2 separate regions of the Homo sapiens genome follow, and region 1 is linked to region 2. Evidence: promoter capture Hi-C in 16 types of primary human blood cells and fetal thymus (Javierre and others, 2016). All regions are on one chromosome and are shown on one strand. The core of a region is centred on a gene start or on the middle of the fragment in contact, and the rest is flanking DNA. Distances in the headings are between cores, read along the strand shown. Region 1 overlaps NEURL1 (neuralized E3 ubiquitin protein ligase 1). Region 2 holds the start of SFR1 (SWI5 dependent homologous recombination repair protein 1).

Region 1 (3,452 bases), core at 322-2,821, 550 kb before region 2:
CTGAAGAAAGTCGCTGTCCATCTTGGTGGCTCTGAGGCTGGGCCAGTCTTTCCTGGGGTGACTGTCCCCCAAACCAATGTCTGATCTTTGGGGATTTTCTGCCAGGCCTGCCCCTGCCCCCTTTGTCTGAAGCCTGTGGTCAAAGCCCTCCCAATCTTACCTGCTCTGTGTTTGTTCCTTAGACCAGAGGCTTCCCAGGGTAGCTGGCACATAGTAGGTAAGCAGGTCAGGCCATGGATGGGTTGTGTCCCCAGACAGAGTGGAGGCAGGGGCTGGTGTCTCTCCCCAGTGGACGGTCCTCCCTGCCCTGGCCAGAATCCAAGCCCACAATGGTGCCCATGCCATGGCCCCAGCAGGCCCTCCTCCCTGTTATGGTGCCCATGCCACAGCCCCAGCAGGCCCTCCTCCCTGTTATGCTGGAGTTCTGCAGATCACCTCTTTCTTTGGGGCGCCCTGGCCCAAGCCCAGGCTGGTATCGTCAAGAATAACAGCTTCCTTCCTCCAGGGAGAAGGACCCGCCAGCAACTAAATAAACACAGGTTTTATGGGGTGATTAATACATGGAAAAAGAAGCTCCTATCCCAGTATCTCAAGGTCTCCTTGCTCCTCTCAGAAATGTCAATTCAGGAAGAGCAGCTGTGAGTCCCAGCAGGACTTGGCTGGCGGGCCAAGAGCCCACTTACAGGGTGCTCCAGAGCATCCCTTGGTGCCTACCACTGCCTAGGCACTAAGCGGGGGCAGGTGGGAGACAGAAGAATCAAAAACCCAGCCCCTCTCCTGGAATAATGTTTTCCCTGGGGGACACATCATATAACTGATGCAAGGTGGCCCAAGTTCAATTCTGCAATCAAGTGTGACCTGAAGAGTAAAACTGTGTGTATGTGTGGGAGGGGAGTGCAGCTAGAGAGCAATCCAGGAGGACTTCCTGTAGGAGACAAGTTTTAAGTCAGGAACTAAGTGAGGTGAAAAGAATGGATTGGTTGAGGAACAATTTAGGTCAGACAGGGGGGTGTCCACAGGTGCAGAGGTGGGGAATTGGCGGTCAGTAGGGGAGCAGATCCAGGAGGGGAAGGAATGAGGTAGAAAGGTAGTGGGTGACTTGTGGAGGTGAGGGGTGTGCACAGGTGTGGGTATGTGTATGCATCACAGGGGAGAGAGCCATGAGAGCTGAAAGCTTCCAGCAGCTTTTGTGCTGTCAAGTTGTTCAGTAAGAGGGACTGGCTGGTTGACAGTGGAGAAGTATGAGACCCAGAGATGGGGAGAGGCCTGCCCAAACTCTCCCAGCTGCTCATCAGCCAGGCCAGGCCTGGAACCCAGATCTCTCAGGCTGATCTGGGAGTAAGGTCAGAGGGAGGAGGCTATCAACACATCTAAATGGTGGGGCTGGGTCCGGGAGGGTTCTAGGAGGGGATGAGGTGGGGGCTCCCGAGGGCTTATGCATTCTATTCCATCCCTTGCCATGCACAGGTTCCCAGGTCTTGGTAAAAGACCCACGCCTGCCTACTGAGGAGAGAGCTGTATGGAGACTCTCAGGATGGGCTTCCAAGGGTCATGTGCTGCTGGGTGGGTTCTCCAGGCCCCCTGGAGATAGGGGCCTAGGTCAGGTCCCCTATCCAGGGTGTGCCTCAGCTTGGAGGTGCTGAGCATGAGTGATCCCCAGCCGAGGACCACACTGCCATCTGGGCCTTCTGCTTCCCAGGCTAAACCAATATTTACCCTCAGCTGTGGCTGCTAGGGGCCAAGAGGCAAATATTAGTTTAAGGAGCCTGAGCCAGCTGTTGGGCTGGGGGAAACAGCTGAGGCTGCCGATCATGATTTCTTCCTCTTTGATGATTTTCATTTCTTTTTGATTAAGAAAAAAATCTTGCTTTTCCTTCTGCTTCAGAGGGTTTTCTGGTGCTTCCTTTCTGCTTACCCCAAATTCTGCCAGCTATATCAGTGCCCCACACCAAACCCTCCCCTCCATTAGGAAGCTTTCCCAGACCTCCCTCATTCAAAATGACCCTTCCTCCTCCTGACCATCGGAAGCACTTGGAGACCTAAGTGGTATAAGCAGCTTTGAGTCATGTATTGTCCTGCTCTTTAAAGATCCAGCATATATCCTCTTTGTATATAAAGGAAGGTATTATTGTGCCCATTTTGTAGATAAGGAACAGAGGCTGAGAGAGGTCTGATAACCTGCCCAAGGTCACACAGCTGGCAGTTGGTGGAGCTGGGATTTGAACCCAGGAGCTTGGGCTACATTACCTTCCAGCTTCTCTAGATGTGAGTCCATCTGATCTCCCTATTAGGTCTGGATACCCGACAAGAGCGGGGACAGTGGCCCTCCTGTGCCTTCCAGAGTCGAGCTTACAAGAGCTCAAGGCATCAAGGATCAACTGCACATGTTGGGCACAGATAGGCCACCAGGGCCCCAGCAGTGCTGGTACAAGGAAGAGGGGCAGTGCAGCGCCCAGGATGCCAGATTCAGTGGGGAAGGTCGGTCTGCCTGCCTTATAGTTCCCCGGAGGCTCCCGAGGGCTTTGTCTGGTTCAGTTATTCCTGTGCACTCTAGTTTTCTACCACAATGAATATATATCAAGTTGAACCATATGTAATCACCAGTATTGGACTGTTTTTAACTTACAAGAAAGGCAATCTCATGTTTGCCCCTAGCATCTCTTGGGCCCAAGAGATTGTACTGGGGCCTTGGAGAGAGTGGTGGGGCTCAGGGTGGGGTGTATGTGGAGGGAGGAGCTCGGGCCTTGCAGTATTGGGGACAATGCCTTCATTTAAGATGCAGGAGACCCACTGAATCAAGGCTTGACTTGGCCACTCATTAGCTCTGGGCAGTTCTCAGCTTCTCTGTGCTTCAGCCTCCTCATTATTTGGGCATAATTATACACACCCCACTTACCTCACAGATGTGGAAAGGCATTTACACAAATGAGAAGGGCTTTTGTCTTTAGGTTAAAAAGGAATACCTAATTTAAAGACACCGCCCTCCACGGCCAAAAAAGCCAACCCCTCAAACCAGCTCTTCAACTAGAAGAGGGAGCCTTGAACCCAGGTCTCTGTATCGGGCTGAAAGGAAAACCATGCAATCGAAATTGCTCCTTGGAACAAGATCTGTGCTTCTCCAGCTGGGTTCCTTGGAACACTGGGGTTCCACAGAGGTGTCTTGGAGGCTGCAGAGAAGGCCAGAGAGAGGGTGAGGGGATAGGTGCTAGGTCCACCTCCTAGACTTCAGCCAGAACTTGGGGTTCTGTTGGACAAAAGGATTCCACTGCTTTTTAAAAAAGTTTGAGACCCACTAGACCAGATGATTCTATAAATCTATGAGATCCCGTGGCTTGAAGATTCTCTGAATCTTAAAGTCTGTGACTGTGAGTGATTTTAGGATGTTCTGCCCTTCCCTCTGTGAGCCCCAGAAAGCATGTTTGTTTCTCCTAAATTTCCCATGGTTGGGTTTA
Region 2 (3,506 bases), core at 677-3,176:
TTTGAGATTAACTGATGCCAATGGATGAGTAAAGGGAGAAATAAATGTACAGACTGAGACCTGCAGCTTGGTGAGGTGAGTAACACCTTTATCACAAAATCATGAGTTCTCTCTTCCCCTTTGTAAATTCCTTGGGGTTAACTTATGTAATTTTAAAAAATTTTAGGAGTGAAATATGTATTATTAATCATATGTGAGGCTCTACATTTTCTGCTATTTATGGTTTATATTGTGTGGGATCTTACAGATCACAGCATCTTTTTAAAATATATGTGCTTTTTTGGGGGGTGGGAGATAAATCAAGGGGTGAAACTGAAGGTGATACATTCCCTTAAATCCATTAGGGAATGGTGAATACACTTGCATATATAAAATAACTACTGAGTGCTTCCTAGATACCTAGCTCTGTTCCAGCTGCCTCTCACCAGTTCTCATTTAATTCTCCAATCCCATATTAAGAGGTGAAGAAACTGAGGCACAGAATCACCTCATTAAGAAGCACATAAAGTATGGTGCCAGGATTTGAACCTAGACAATTTGACTGTAACGTGTACGCCCCTAATCATTCCCTTAGGTAGTCCTCAGGTTCTGTAATTATTATACCTGACTGCTTAAGACTCAGGTAACTCCCTTTTGGCCACTTCTAAGCCACTACTGTCAGATGTTATTAATAGTAAAGAGACGATATCAATGTTTAAAATGGCCATTCAATAAGAGGACTGAAAACACTGGCCCCTGGAAATTCCCAACTTCCACGTGACTCAGAAGTTACTCAACTCTTTCACTAAACCCAGTGCTCCACCCAATGTAGCTAACTTTGTCGTCGCGTAGCAACAGAACCTCGCCATACTGGAAGCGGGGCGCGGGGGGGGGATTTTCTCGACTGAGGATGCTGCTGCCCGGTAGCCAGCAAGGGCCCTGTCGGTCTCAAACGTGAATTTTGGACCGACACAATCTCATGTAGTGATTGTTCTGCTTCCTGTGTTGCGCCACAACAAATTTCCTTGGGCTACATTTTCCCTCAGATTTGAGTAAAAGATTTGAGGTCACGCTAAGGAGCCTGCATACTGAGGTACAGAAACGGTTTTTTGTTTACAACAACAACAAAAAACCTCGCGACGGGACCGCCGAGTTTGCGGCAGCCAAAAAAGCTAGCGATGAGCTCAGCTAAAGTGCCGGGACTCTCGGATAGATTTCTAACATGTTTGAAATGTGGACCCCAACGCTGGAACCCAACGCTGTTCTTTTGTGGTCTCTGGAACCACCACGCTGGAATAGGCTGGAACCCAACCAACGCTGTTCTTTTGTGGTCTCTGCCTCTGGGGAGTCCACAAGCTGTAAATCTAACATGCAGCCAGCCGTGCGGCTTCTGGCCGCCCCACGTCTGAGTAAAGCCTTCACTGTGACTAGCAGGGAGAGGAGACTGACTGGAGCCAGAGAATGGAGGCGGCGGGCTGGCGGGGGTGGGGAGAGGCACTTTCAGGCGCACTTCACAGACGCACAAAAACAAGGAAGCCTGAAGGGAAGGCGGTTGAAAATAAGGCAACAGAAGCCGCGAACGGAAGCGCGCCCCCCTCAGGATTGGTTTAACATTCCGAAGCTCAGCCTCGCCCGCCCCGAAGACCTGCTGCGGATCGCGGCCGCGCGCGCGCGCACTCACGCTGCTCTCGGGCGCTGGGCGGGGAGAGCCGCGCGCACCGGTTAATTCTGCCAATCATGCGTCTGGGCCTCCCATCGTGTGGGCCAAGCCCCGCCCCAACCACCCGCTGGCGGAGGCGCGCGCGCAGTCCCACCGCTCTGAGTCGCTGAGTGAAGCGGCGCCTCGCGCGTCAGGCAATCTGGCCAATTGCGCATCTTTTCCGCCTACCGCACGGCCCCGCCCCTGCCACAGGATCGATTTACGGCCGCAGGTGCGCGCGCTTTTTTGCTCTCGCTGGGAATGGCGGAGGGAGGTACCCTGCTGAGGGGAAGGGGGGATCCCTGACACCTGGGCTTCCCCGGGAGTCGGCTGTGGAGTCGAGTTGAGCTCCCTTTCCGGGTCTGGGGAACTCAACCTCACCTTATGCCTGGGGTCTCCGGGGAACTAGTGGGCTTTCTGCAACGGGGGGAAGGAGGGGACGACTCCCGCCCCTAGTTTACCCCTCAAAAGTTAATGCCTTTGTCGGAGGAAGCAATTTCAGTCCACTCTCCTTTTCAGTCCCTGTTGGCCGCTTAAACTAAAAGGCTACAGACGGGCTTAAATGCGTCTCCGCTGTGTTTCTTATGCCTCGGGCCGGCAGGGTAACGGGTTCTAGTCACAGCTTGTAGAGTTCAGGATGGGTGACATTCAGGTCCTATTGTTTTTGAGTCAAGGTTTCGGCTATAGCTTCTTGAATTATGAAGCTGTCATAATAAAGAATTCCTGATTATCTAAAGCTGTTATTCTTCCCTACTTCCAAGGCAGAATTTGAATATATTTTGGTGGATGAAACGAAAACAAGGAGAGTCTTGTGACTATGAGATACTAGCTGGTTGATGTATCATGAAAAACTTAGTGGTCCCTATGTGGGAAGGTAAATGGAAAACTGCAAAAAGAGCAAGAATGAATTACAAAGTGAAATTAGAAGAAATATCTGGCTTACTTGTGGATGCTTTGTACACCAATACAATATATTATTTGATAAAAGTCGACTATAGAGAGGTGTGGTTAATTCGATTATTTTATAATTTTTCTTTTTTAGAGAAAAACCAAGATTTCACTTTCAAGATGGAAAGTCCGTCAGACTCAGCTGTGGTTTTACCTAGCACTCCTCAGGCCTCTGCGAATCCATCATCTCCCTATACAAATAGTTCCCGAAAACAAGTATGAAAATCTTTGTTCTTCCAGTGGATCCATTATGTGTTTCTAAGTATTGTGGCAGTGGTGGTTTAAATTCTACGGAAGGTTGTTAATTAACATAATGTGTAGCATAAATAAGTAGACATTTTATTAAATAATTTTGTTTTTCTTCTAAGGTGACATATATGACACCCACCAGCCCCCTTCCATATTTTCCTCTTGAATGAATTCATTTCAGTTAGTTTCAGATTAGGTTATTACAATACTCCAGATGGAGAAAGTTTGCATCTGTGCAATATTATTATGAAGGTCTTTAGTGGCAGAGTCTAGGTCTTTTCCTTACTCTGTAATTCTGAAGCACCTGGAGTACTATCAGGCATGTGCTTGTTACTGAACAAATGTTCCTTGATTACTGGGATAAACTTCTCAACACTTTTGGAAAGGTGTTGATCTTGCTGAAGTAAAAAGGAAATAAAACAAATGGAGCTTCCAGAAATTAAAGTCATTTTGTGATGCCTTCTTTAGATGTGGAGACAGAAAGCCATCTAGTGGTGTCTAGCATAGAAATGGAAGGACTTTATTTCTGGTGATTTATTGACATTAAGAATGTTTTTCTTGATTCACATTTTTAATGTTTTGTGCTCTTTATAGCCTATGAGTGCAACACTTAGAGAAAGATTAAGGAAAA

The links. The method cuts DNA at HindIII sites, captures the fragments that hold promoters and counts their contacts. A CHiCAGO score of 5 or more calls a contact.
Region 1: a fragment that was not itself captured here is called in contact with the fragment with the promoter of SFR1 in region 2 in 5 of 17 cell types (total B cells, naive CD4 T cells, naive CD8 T cells and 2 more); the score reaches 6.7 in total B cells.

The regions. Positions count from the first base shown.
Region 1 is chr10:103,575,311-103,578,762 of GRCh38, forward strand. The region is part of intron 3 of NEURL1 (neuralized E3 ubiquitin protein ligase 1); the gene reads left to right. Among named protein-coding and RNA genes, the nearest start is that of NEURL1-AS1, 60 kb to the left of the region's middle. The HindIII fragment of the contact is 799 bases long and covers 1,173-1,971 here.
Region 2 is chr10:104,120,245-104,123,750 of GRCh38, forward strand. SFR1 (SWI5 dependent homologous recombination repair protein 1) reads left to right here and starts at 1,927. Exons shown (of 4, transcript NM_001002759.2): 1 at 1,927-1,952; 2 at 2,721-2,842; 3 at 3,470-3,506. The coding sequence starts at 1,940. RefSeq lists enhancers at 1-1,189, 673-772, 1,345-2,008, 1,403-1,452 and a silencer at 1,693-1,922. The HindIII fragment of the contact is 3,915 bases long and covers 1-3,506 here.